Regions from separate parts of the Homo sapiens genome. Here regions 1, 2 and 3 are each linked to region 4. The links are contacts of gene promoters, found by promoter capture Hi-C in blood cells and fetal thymus (Javierre and others, 2016). All regions are on one chromosome and are shown on one strand. Each heading gives the region's core, a stretch centred on a gene start or on the middle of the fragment in contact. The rest is flanking DNA. Distances are from core to core; before and after follow the strand shown.

The links. Contacts are between HindIII fragments. The CHiCAGO score rates a contact against its expected background, and 5 or more counts as called.
Region 1: a fragment that was not itself captured here is called in contact with the fragment with the promoter of DAPP1 in region 4 in 1 of 17 cell types (naive B cells); the score reaches 7.7 in naive B cells.
Region 2: a fragment that was not itself captured here is called in contact with the fragment with the promoter of DAPP1 in region 4 in 1 of 17 cell types (naive B cells); the score reaches 5.8 in naive B cells.
Region 3: a contact is called between a fragment that was not itself captured here and the fragment with the promoter of DAPP1 in region 4, in 1 of 17 cell types (total B cells). The highest score is 5.5, in total B cells.

The regions. Positions count from the first base shown.
Region 1 is chr4:98,446,010-98,448,709 of GRCh38, reverse strand. No RefSeq gene overlaps it. Among named protein-coding and RNA genes, the nearest start is that of RAP1GDS1, 190 kb to the right of the region's middle. The HindIII fragment of the contact is 5,004 bases long and covers 1-2,700 here.
Region 2 is chr4:98,661,137-98,663,836 of GRCh38, reverse strand. It overlaps TSPAN5-DT (TSPAN5 divergent transcript), which reads right to left. Exons shown (of 3, transcript NR_148380.1): 3 at 1-847. The region is part of intron 1 of LOC112267901 (a long non-coding RNA gene); the gene reads right to left. Among named protein-coding and RNA genes, the nearest start is that of TSPAN5-DT, 3.6 kb to the right of the region's middle. The HindIII fragment of the contact is 4,440 bases long and covers 1-2,700 here.
Region 3 is chr4:98,289,332-98,292,031 of GRCh38, reverse strand. All of the region lies in intron 1 of RAP1GDS1 (Rap1 GTPase-GDP dissociation stimulator 1), which reads right to left. Among named protein-coding and RNA genes, the nearest start is that of RAP1GDS1, 29 kb to the right of the region's middle. The HindIII fragment of the contact is 1,603 bases long and covers 481-2,083 here.
Region 4 is chr4:99,815,455-99,818,154 of GRCh38, reverse strand. DAPP1 (dual adaptor of phosphotyrosine and 3-phosphoinositides 1) reads right to left here and starts at 1,328. Exons shown (of 9, transcript NM_014395.3): 1 at 1,141-1,328. The coding sequence starts at 1,241. The HindIII fragment of the contact is 961 bases long and covers 724-1,684 here.

The sequences.
Region 1 (2,700 bases), core at 37-2,536, 1.4 Mb after region 4:
AAGCCAGAGAAATGGATTTTTATGCAAAATCACTTACATTTTAAATGTTTAAAGCTATTCATTTTTTCTCCTTTTCTTCTTCCTTTTTTTTTTTTTTAAAAAATACCAGGCCGGACGCGGTGACTCACGCCTGTAATCCCAGCACTTTGGGAGGCTGAGGCGGGCGGATCACAAGGTCAGGAGATTGAGACCATCCTGGCTAACACGGTGAAACCATGTCTCTACTAAAAATACAAAAAATTAGCTGGGCGTGGTGGCGGGCACCTGTAGTCCCAGCTACTCAGGAGGCTGAGGCAGGAGAATGGCGTGAACCCGGGAAGCAGAGCTTGCAGCAAGCTGAGATGGCACCACTGCACTCCAGCCTGGGTGACAGAACAAGACTCCATCTCAAAACAAAACAAAACAAAAAACAACAACCATGTGGCCCAAACAACATGTGTGAGGGCCCCTAGTTTGTTTGCCATCCCTAGTCTATAGAGGAAGAAACAGATTGGCCAGGTGATAGAATCATGAAGAGCATGAAGAGTGTTTAATGATGACTCTTGTGGAAGAAGAGGCCCTCCACTCCTTCCCTCCCCTCTCCATGTGAGTGGTGCCTGGAGAGTGTTGATCAGCTTGGAAGAAATCAGAGTGGTGGTTCACAGGTTTGTTTAGAGGCGCAAATATGTTGCTAGCAGTTGATGGCAGTGCTAAGAGGTGATTAGACTCCAATCAGCTAAACATCAGTTCCATAGGTACTTGTAGGTATGCTCTATACCTCTTCTGATACACTCTGAACGCACTCTGATACATTTGGTAATGGGGCGGTGGTAGATGTTGCGTGGGTGTAAGTGATGTAACGCTTGGATGCCCAGGAGGAGGTGCTGTTGTGGGTTCCCTCGGGAGAGTGGGGAGGGCTTGGTTGGAGCAGAGTGTTCAAGAGGTGATGAAAAGTAAGGGTGTATCAGGAAGGGTTGCACAGAGGCTGGGCAGGGCAGCTCTGCCTCACTGAGAAATTTGATCAGGATCTCTGAGGAAGAAAGGATTGGGGCTTTGATTTAAGAATTAGGGGCAGAAAATAGAGGGACTGGCAAGTCAGATAGTTTTTAATTGAGGAACTACCCTAGCATCTGAAAACACACACAACCTAGCATTTGGGGTTTGTTTTTTAAAAGTCAGAATATATCTTGAATGTCTAGATGCAGGAAAAGGTTAAGATTCTGGTACAGCCATATAATTAAAGAACATGGGGGTATGGTGGCTCATGCCTATAATTCCAGCACTTTGGGAGGATCGCTTGAGTCTGGAAATTCAAGGCTAGCCTGGGCAACAAAGCAAGACTTCATCTCTGCAACATTTAAAAAAAAAAATAGCCGGGCATAGTAGTGATGCCTGTGGTCCCAGCTACTAGGGAAGCTGAGGTGTATCAGTTGAGCCCAGCAGGTTGCGGCTGTGGTGAGTCAAGATTGCGCCACTGCACTCCAGCCTGTGCAAGACCTCATCTCAAAACCACAAAGAACACAACAAAGAACAAAAAATAGGCAGCCATTAAAAAAGAGGTTTATAAAAACTTGAGTTGTTAGTAACATGAGAAATTCTTAAGTGGGGGGAAAAAAGGATATAGCTACACATGGCACAATGCTTCAACCATGTAAATACACCCTGGGCAACTGCTGTGGGCAAGCATGCCAGAAGGTCATTCTGAAACTTTGCATCAGACATTAGGCACAGGTATAACAAAGCATGCTTTCTATGAACTAACTGTCAGATCATATTATAACACAAATGCGAGGCCGTTCTCTCATTAACAGGAAATGAATTTTTGTCAGATGGTTTTCTCAGGTCAGTGAACATCTTGTTCTCACTTGTTGTGGCTTAGGGGAAGTCACTGTGTTTCACAATCACGATAGGGTAACAAGAGGACAAGAAATAGGCGAGTGGGAAGCAAAGGAATTAATAGTTATTACTTTGGGATATGATGAATCTACATGGACACTCTGCTGTGTTACTTCCTCTAACTTCTGCTGGGTACTAGGGGATGAGGCTGTGTGGGTGAAAAGAGCAGAATATGATTCATTAACACCTCTTCTACTTTTCTTACCTACACAAAAAAGGAAGTCATGGTAGGAGAAGCATGGTAGAGAGTGGGTTGCATTCTGGAAACTTGAGAAAAGGGAGGGTGGGGCAACGGAACTGTCTACCTACCGATAGTTGGCTTTAGCCGAAATTAGGAACTATTTTGGGTTCCTCCAAAGATGGGTCTGAAGTCAAAGCTCCTCTGGTTAATATTTCCTCACATCATCTTAGAATTGGATTCAATCATCCCTTCCTTCCTAAGTTCTAAGTGTTTTAGGTATCTGTCTGACATGCCTATGCTAGACATCAAGGAACTAAGCACCAAGATGCTGAGCAGAACCTCCCTGAAGGGAGGTCAAGGTCAGAGGTGCTGACCTTCTCTGGTCCTCCTGCTAGTGGACCAGAGAAGACCACCAGACCAAGAGAGCAAAGGTCAGAAGAACCGCAGGCAGCAGTACCTACCTGGCTTGTTTTGTTTGATAATTTGGTTCCAATATATAAAAATGAATTGTCATCATATTAAGTTCCTGTCTAGTGTTATAAATAGGAGACAGATGTGTATTGTCCATTTTCAAAGTGTTAGGGAGAATCTCTGTGGCTACAGCTAAAAAGCTCAATTTCATTAAAAATTTTATTTTTATTTTG
Region 2 (2,700 bases), core at 87-2,586, 1.2 Mb after region 4:
AAACATTGCCTGCACTTCAGCTGGGCGCAGGGTTCCCTTTGTTACTGAGACAGACTCTCAGGTTGGCCCAGCCTGAATCTACCGGGACCCCATCAACTGTGAAGTACAAACCTCGCTGGAGGTGGGAGAGCACCTTGTGGTTGAGAAGGTCTGAGAAAGGGGTGGGTGTGATCTGTCAGACACCCTAAAATGTTTCCCTGTATTGTTTGAGACAGAAACAGCTAGGGAAGAGAGGGGGTGGTGGGTGTGGGGAATAGAAAAAACGTGGTACTAAGAGAAATGCAGAAATGCTGGTGGTGATTCAAGAGGAGAAAATCAATAAAGGCTTGGGGCAGAACCTCAAAAGGTGTTTAAGTCAGGATACTTTCAGTTGTATGAAACGGAAAACCCCTGTCAAAGTATCTTAACCAAGAAATTTGTCTCATCTGACAGGAAGTCGTGAGTAAGGCCACCTTCAAGGTTGGTTAAGTCAGCCATACAACAAAGGCTGGAAGGCCCTGGTTCTTTTTATCCTTCCACTCTGCCATCCTTGGTGTGGTCTTTGTCATCAGGCTGTAGAGGATCGAGGCATCACATCCAAACCCAACCAAGTCCAAGGGCGAAAGAGACCATTTCTTAGATGCAAGGAAACCTCTAGCAGATTCTTCTCATGGCTTGTTGACCAGAATTGGGCCACCTGCCCATTCCTGAACCACACATTAGCAAGAGGAATGGGACTGCCAGATGTGACGCAGAGGGCCAGTCTTCCCAGAGCATGTGGCTGCTTTAAGAGGGGGACGCTGAACACAGCTGCTAGGGTTCTGAGAGGAAGGCGGCAGGAGGGGTGTGGAGGCAACCAGCAGGGCGGCTACAGAGAAGCAAAAGAAAAACAGAGAGGAGCAGAGAGGCAGACAATGACAGAGCCCAAGAGGAGGGAGGCAGGAAGGTGGGCAGGAACAATAAAGCACAGGTGGAGACAGACAAGCTCGTTAAGTTTGGTGTCTTAGGTTAAAACGCTGTTGTCATATCTTGCTCCTCAGCCAGGCAACTATTAGAAGAACACGCTTTACCTGTTTTCACTGCCACTTGAAGAGCTGATTAACTTGTCAGTAGTTAAACTTATTAACCATTTTTCAACCTCAGAGTTATAAGGGAGGTGGCCTTAGCAGTATTCAGACAGAAAATTTTTCTCCTTTTCTCCTTAAAATAGATCAGCATTTATTGAGTTGTGAAGGAGTTGCGTGAAATAAATATGATTACTTAGTTACTTTCTTACATCTTTATGTATAATTTTATCTTCTTAATTGTAAAAGCAATTTAACCACACTTAAAAATTGCAAACCAGAAACATGAAAACAAAATCACCCAGCCTTATAACTGTTCTTATTTGGCAAAAATTAACTCCTAACTTTTTTTCATACAACTGCATACCGTTTTGTAGACTGCTTTATTTTTCAAAACGTGTATCATATACATGGTACAAATTTCAAAAACAGACTAAAGGGGTTATTTAAAAATAAAACATGTCTCCTTCCTATCAGTATCTTTAGTCCCCCAGTTTGCCCCCCATTCCACCCTAACTCGCTGTTACCAGTTTATTTCGTTTTCTTCCATAGATAGCCTACCCATTAACAAGGAAATATGTGTATGGATATTCTTTTGCCAACAGAGCTTATCTTTTCACAAAATGATAGCCTACTGTGTACACTGTTTTTGTTCCTTGTTTTTAAAATTTAACAATATTACTTGGAGATAATTCCATATATAGTGCCTTTAAAATTTAACATTATAATGTATCCATATATTGCCACATACTCTATAAGCAGTATCTTCAAGAGCTGTAAAAACTGTGAGCAAATGACTCATTCATTCCTTTAATAAATATTTATCAAGCACCTGCCATATCTGCAGAGCTCTGGTGATTCTAAGATTACCAAGGGTTAGGTCACACCCTAGAAGGAGTCACAGCAGATTGAGGAGACAGGTAGGTAAACAAGTTCTTACAGGCAGCCTTTAAGTGCCGGGATGGAAGAACACAGCGGGTGTTGAGGGAATAAAGAAGGAGCCTCCGAGACATTGAACAAAAGTAGTGAAGAATAAGAGAAATCAGCTCACAGACAAGAGACAAGGAGAATGCCCCAGGCAGAAACTCTAAATGACATGTGCAGAGGCACAGAATGTGAAGGAACATTGTGGTCCAAGTAACTACAAGGAATTGGATATCACCCCTACTCTTTGATCTTTAATTTCTGGCCAAGTCTTCAATATAAATAATGCTATGATATACATCTTGCAGTGTATAACTTTTTCCATCTGCTGGGGTATTTCTTTGGGTAGATTCCCAGAAGAGGGACTGCTGAGTCAAAATGTAGGAGCACTCTGACCTGATATATACAGCCAAAATGCTTTCCAAATGGACATATTATTTCATAAGGACACCAACAATGTATGTGCTAACCAGTGCTCATTATTTTTGTATCTTTATTAGTTTTAATGTATACTTCATTTATTACTAGATTAATTTCCCCATATATTTTATTTCTTATATGATTTATTTTCTGTTTATACTCAACCACTGCGATTCTATATTTTACTATAGCTCTATGAGCCCTACTTATAATATAGACATTCAGGTTTTTATTTTTCATGTTTGCTGCCAATTTTTTTTCTGGTTTAGCTTACACTAAAAAAAGCTGGACACGTAGAAGTGTTTAAGATATT
Region 3 (2,700 bases), core at 33-2,532, 1.5 Mb after region 4:
GAATAGATGAAGAAAATTTAGTCTCAATATATACGTAGTTGGAAAACACGTGAGTATTTTAACAGCCTTTTCAGATAATTGCGGATATTCACTGATATACTAAAACTGGACACCTGGCAGTTCCTTAAAGGTTAGTTGCCCTGCTAAGCCGAAACAATATGAAAGCTTCCATTTTCCAGAAGAGGAAAGATTTATCTGATTTATCTGATTAAGGCTGAGGACTACTGGACATGTATGGCTCAACCCCTTCTGCATTCCTGTTATTTTAGAAACAACAAGAATTTTCTGTTCTACACCTGTGGCTGTCCAGGTGTACAGTGACAAAATGAGTAAATATGTATAATTCAGCAGTAAATTACTAGTAATCCCATTGTGACTCTACAAATAGAGGCCTTAACTCTAGACTTTATTAATTTTAAAGCAGATATTTTAAATTCTAGCAGACGACTCATATGCTTATATCTCCAGTGGTTCTAAGCTTGGGTAAGAAACAGAGGATATTATTTTTGTACTCCTTCAAACCATGACAGTAAATTTCAGTAGTAAATCCTTAGCATCCAAATTACTTTTTGTGTAATTCCAGAGAGCTGTATTTTACATTTCCTTAAAAGCACTGAAATTGTTCTAATGAAAATTTGTCAGCCTCTGGCTGGTAATGAGGCAGTAAGTAGAGATAGAAATGGAGAAGTATTAACAAATAAAATAAAATTTTTTCTTAAAACAATTTCTTTCCTATATATCAACATATGGTCTAGTTCGTCTTGTGAAATATGTGACATCTTCAAAGGGTTAAAGCAAAGTTGACTTGGTCATTAAAATTCTGAGTCTCCCACTTCTTACCCACTCAATCGCTCCTTAAAACCTGATCTAACCAAGTCCTCTAAAAGCCTATCAAAATTACTCTGTCAAAGGTTTTAAATGATATCTTGACAAAGCCAATGAATTTTTCTCAATCCTCTTGTTTGATATCTCTGTAGCAATAGACAGTTTTTCCATTTCTGAAACACCTCTTAACTTAGAAACATCAGTCTAAACACTTGTTTTTGGTCTTCTTCAATAGATCTTCCTTCTCTATCTGCCCCTTTAATATTAGTGTGACCCCAGTTGTGCACAGAGCCTCTTCTCTTCCTGAATAATATATGCATGCCCTTCAGAATATTAGGATGGTATGCTCTTTCCTTCTGTCCTCCCTTCTTTTATTCAGCTGGACAGACCACTTGCTTTATGTCCCTATCAATATAAAGAATTACCACATTTTAGGCCTTGATACATTTGGATAAAACCTGATGCAACTTCTGGTAACCGTGAACAGCTAACTATCATTCCTCGCATTTCTCAAAAGTCTCTGTTAAAGACAAACAGCTATACTTTCCCACTAAAACCTTCAAACTTTGCCAAGCCTTTTTTTTCTTTTATCTTAGGCACCAGAGGCTCTTTATGCTCCAACCTCTCTTCTATAAACCAGAAACAAATTATTTACTGGTCTGTAAGTACTTGCTGCAATGGAAGAGTTTTCATAAGACCTAAATTTTTAGCTATCAGTTCCTTTCTTAACATCAATCTAAGAAAAACTAATGAGGAAAGTGATGCTGTTTTAATATTTAAATAATTTGACCATAAAAGTACTTAAGATCATCACCAACAACAAAGAATACACTTGACTGTGAAGAAAGGACTGTCCCAAAGAACAAATCTCAAGACAGTGTCATGTTAAACTAGGAAGTCATGAAATTCTTTATGTTATTTGTGGTGGCATTTTTCAGTTTATCTTCCTCACAATATTATTCAGAAATGGTAGCTTTATTTTCAAGGTTATTGGATCTAAAACTTCATACTTTTAAATGTTAATCAATTCTATCACTTTACTATATGCCAGTAAGTAGATACATGGGTATATAGATAGATATGTGTTTGTTATCTTTGGACAATTATACCATTGCTGATGATAAAACCGACAGGAGACAAGTACACAAGAACTGCTAACTGAGCTTGTAAAAGTTCAAGACATTTTTACCTCACTTCAAATGTCACTCAATTTTTTTCTGTATCTATTATTTTCACATAACTATCTAGTAACAAAGCTTTACTTTGAAAGCATCACTATCCACATCAAATCCAAAAAAAAAAATATTTCTGTGCTAATGTGGTTTTCAAGTACCTAGAATACAGCCAATGCATGAATGGAAGAATTTCAAGTTTATCTCAAAATGAATGGCATTAAGTCAATTTGGGGCACCTGGCTTAGCAGCTGGAAATAATAGCAATCTCTCTTGAATATTATGTTTTACTTATCTAAAGGGTTTAGTATCTGACAGAATGAAGCTATTTTTAAAAGCTTCTCTAATGAAGTAGGAATAGTAGTTTCTGTTAGCATGTCAAGTGGAAAGGACTGTGTTTAAAAATTATAATATTTTCAGTTTTACTATGTTGTATTTTCAGTTTCCTACTTTTCTTTCTTTTTTTTTTTTTTTTTTTTTGTTTACCAGAGCTGGTCCTAAACCGATCAGAAACTTTTACAACTCACATTATGCCATCTCCCATTACTTTCTCACACAACATCATGTGTGTCAGTCCCACCACATTATTGGCTTTTTCCCAAGCACACTTTCATTTTCACAATTGTGAGAATTAAATTCTTTTCTAAAATTCCTTTCTGTGCATTTTCCACATCTAGCATGGCTACTTACTTGGCGAAGTCAA
Region 4 (2,700 bases), core at 79-2,578:
TAGAGTTCAATTCCGAGACCTCAGTTTTATAATCTAAAGACAGGAATTATTAATAAACTTTTACAGTAATACAACATAAAAAGATACAATCTCTGCAGCCTTAACACAGAGAGATTTCAACTCTATTTTGGTTTTTCTTTGGTTTCGGACATAGCCTGTGGTAGGTTGGATGCCCAGCTTTGCTATGTAATTGATGTGTGACTAGCAAGCAAGTTATTCAAACCTGTTTGGTACTTGTTTTCATCCTTTGTAAGATGAAGATGACAACAGCTCCTATGTCATTGGATTGCTATGAAGAGTTAGAGCTATTTGTCCAGGCAGAAGGTAAAGGTTTTGCCTCTCCTCATGCACAGGTGTCAAAGCCACCTTCATTGGGATATTCCCAGTGCATTAGGCAGTTTCTCTGGGAAATCCCCAATTCCTCTCTTGTGTAATACTTGTTTCTTATTAAATACCCGGATGAGTTGTCATCTGGGTCCCTTCTTAAAGACAGAGCTCCAATGACTCCACCTACCTATGCTTACCTGTTTGAAGCAGAAATTTTATCCTCTTCCTGGATTGTTGGTACTGAAAGGCTCAAAGTTGGCTCTCTGGACATACATACGATATCAAATCTCACAAATGCAGTATCAGGAGAAAGAAATATACAAGCGAGACTGTTGCAGGAACTTCCTCATTCTCTGTCTTTTGAAAAAGTCCCTCTCCCTTACAGTAGGGTAAGCTTTCTGTTTATCTTACCAGAAACACAGTCCTTTTACTGTCCCTGGGTCAGTGCTAGAAACTCTTGAACAGCGCATTTATTCATAAACCAGAGCAACATCAAGGAAGCCAGGCAACATCACCTCTATATCCCAATTCTGTCCCTCTTCTCAAAGAATGTCCAACATTTGATTTTTTTCCCTATTTTCTCAACCAACTTGTTTTCACATCTAGAAAAATAATGCCTGCTTTTCCAATGGAATTAGCCCCAGACAAGAAGATACTTAACAGATACAAATGAATAAAGTGGAAAAAAATAAATGGTTGAGGTGGCAGAGGGCAACAAGGCACTGAAGATAGTCATTAATCAAAGCATGCAGGTGGGAGTGCGGAGTCAATGTCCACCCACTAGGTACTTTGAAAGGAGATCTGCTGCCTTACCCCAAGTCCTGGAGCAGCTCAGCCTCTCCATCGGATCTGCTCCACAGATCTGAGGGATCCTGGGTGCTCATCTTCCCTTCTAGAAGTTCTGCTCTGCCCATTCGCGCCCTTCACAGAGGTAGAGAGAGAGACACAACTGGGCTGCTCCTGACACCTTCTCGCTCTGTGAGACAGCAGCCTGCTATGGCTCTGAGTCTCCAAGGCAAGGAAGTGAAACTTGGTTACTTACTCCTCCCACCAACACCACCACCCTGGCCTGGAGGCACTGGCAGGAGTGTTCTGTCAGTCAGGAAGTATGCAAACTTAGGTAGCTACCTCTGAGGACACCCACACTACATCACGCAACAGGCGGTTGCTATCAAAGGAAATGAAGAGGCAACCACCCCACCTGGGATTGGACAACAGTGCAAACTGCTTGTGTGAGGCCAAACCCTAGCTTCTCCCTAATGCTATCAGCCTCTGGTTTGTAGTGGAGGATGCGTGCACTCTTTTACCCCATCTTCTTTCTGTCTTACACACCAACACAGGGAACACTGAGGAAGCTTCTCTATCAGGAACACCTTTAGAGTGGATAGAAAAAGCAGAAGCAAACCACAAATTCGACCCTGAAGTTTGATGTTTTAGCACTTTTGCAATATTTCTGCTTGTTTACCCAGACCTTCTAATATATCCTCAATGCTCCGAATAGGGATGATTCAGAGACAATTATTGTTTCCTCCACAGAAAAAGAATTAGGAGAGGAGAAGGTAGGAAAAAGTTACAAGGGGCCATTCTGGTGCCCACCTAATGGGGCATATTAGAACTCCTGGAGTCTTTTTTTTTTTTTTTTTTTGAGACAGTCTCGCTCTGTCACTCAGTCTGGAGTGTAATGGCATGACCTGAGATCACTGCAACCTCCACCTCCCAGGGTTCAAGTGATTCTTCTGCCTCAGCCTCCCAAGTAGCTGGTATTACAGGCACCCGTCATCATGCTCTGCTAATTTTTGTGTTTTTATAGAGACAGGGTTTCACCCTCAGGTGATACACTCACCTCGGCCTCCCAAAGTGCTGGGCTTATAGGCATGAGCCACTGCACCTGGCCTGAACTCCTAGAGTCTTTGAGTGCCACTTCCTTCATGGGCTTACTCACACCTGCATGGCTTTGTGCCCAGATTCATATGTAGAGCAGGATTCTATCTGCCTGGAATGCTAAAGGTAAATTGCAGTGACTGAATCCTTGGGAAGTGGAACAAAGTGCAGTATCAAATGAGTCAAGGACATATGTTGCTTCCTGCCTTTTCTATGTACCTACAGGTCTCTCTCTCCCTCTCCCTTTCTCTCTCTCTCTTCCTATCTCTACTCCCTGACTCATTCAGCACTCACCACAGTGCTCTGTAACTTGTTCTCACAGTGTGGCCTGAGGACTAAACAGCACAGCAGAACTGTTCCTAAAGGACTAGATGATTGCAAAAGGCTGCTGTGCAATGGTTCTATCCTTCATCTTCCTCCCTATTACCACTGTTCACCCGGGATCGGTGAGACCCGGGTAACACTGGTTGCCAGTGGGAAGTTCCTGAGTGT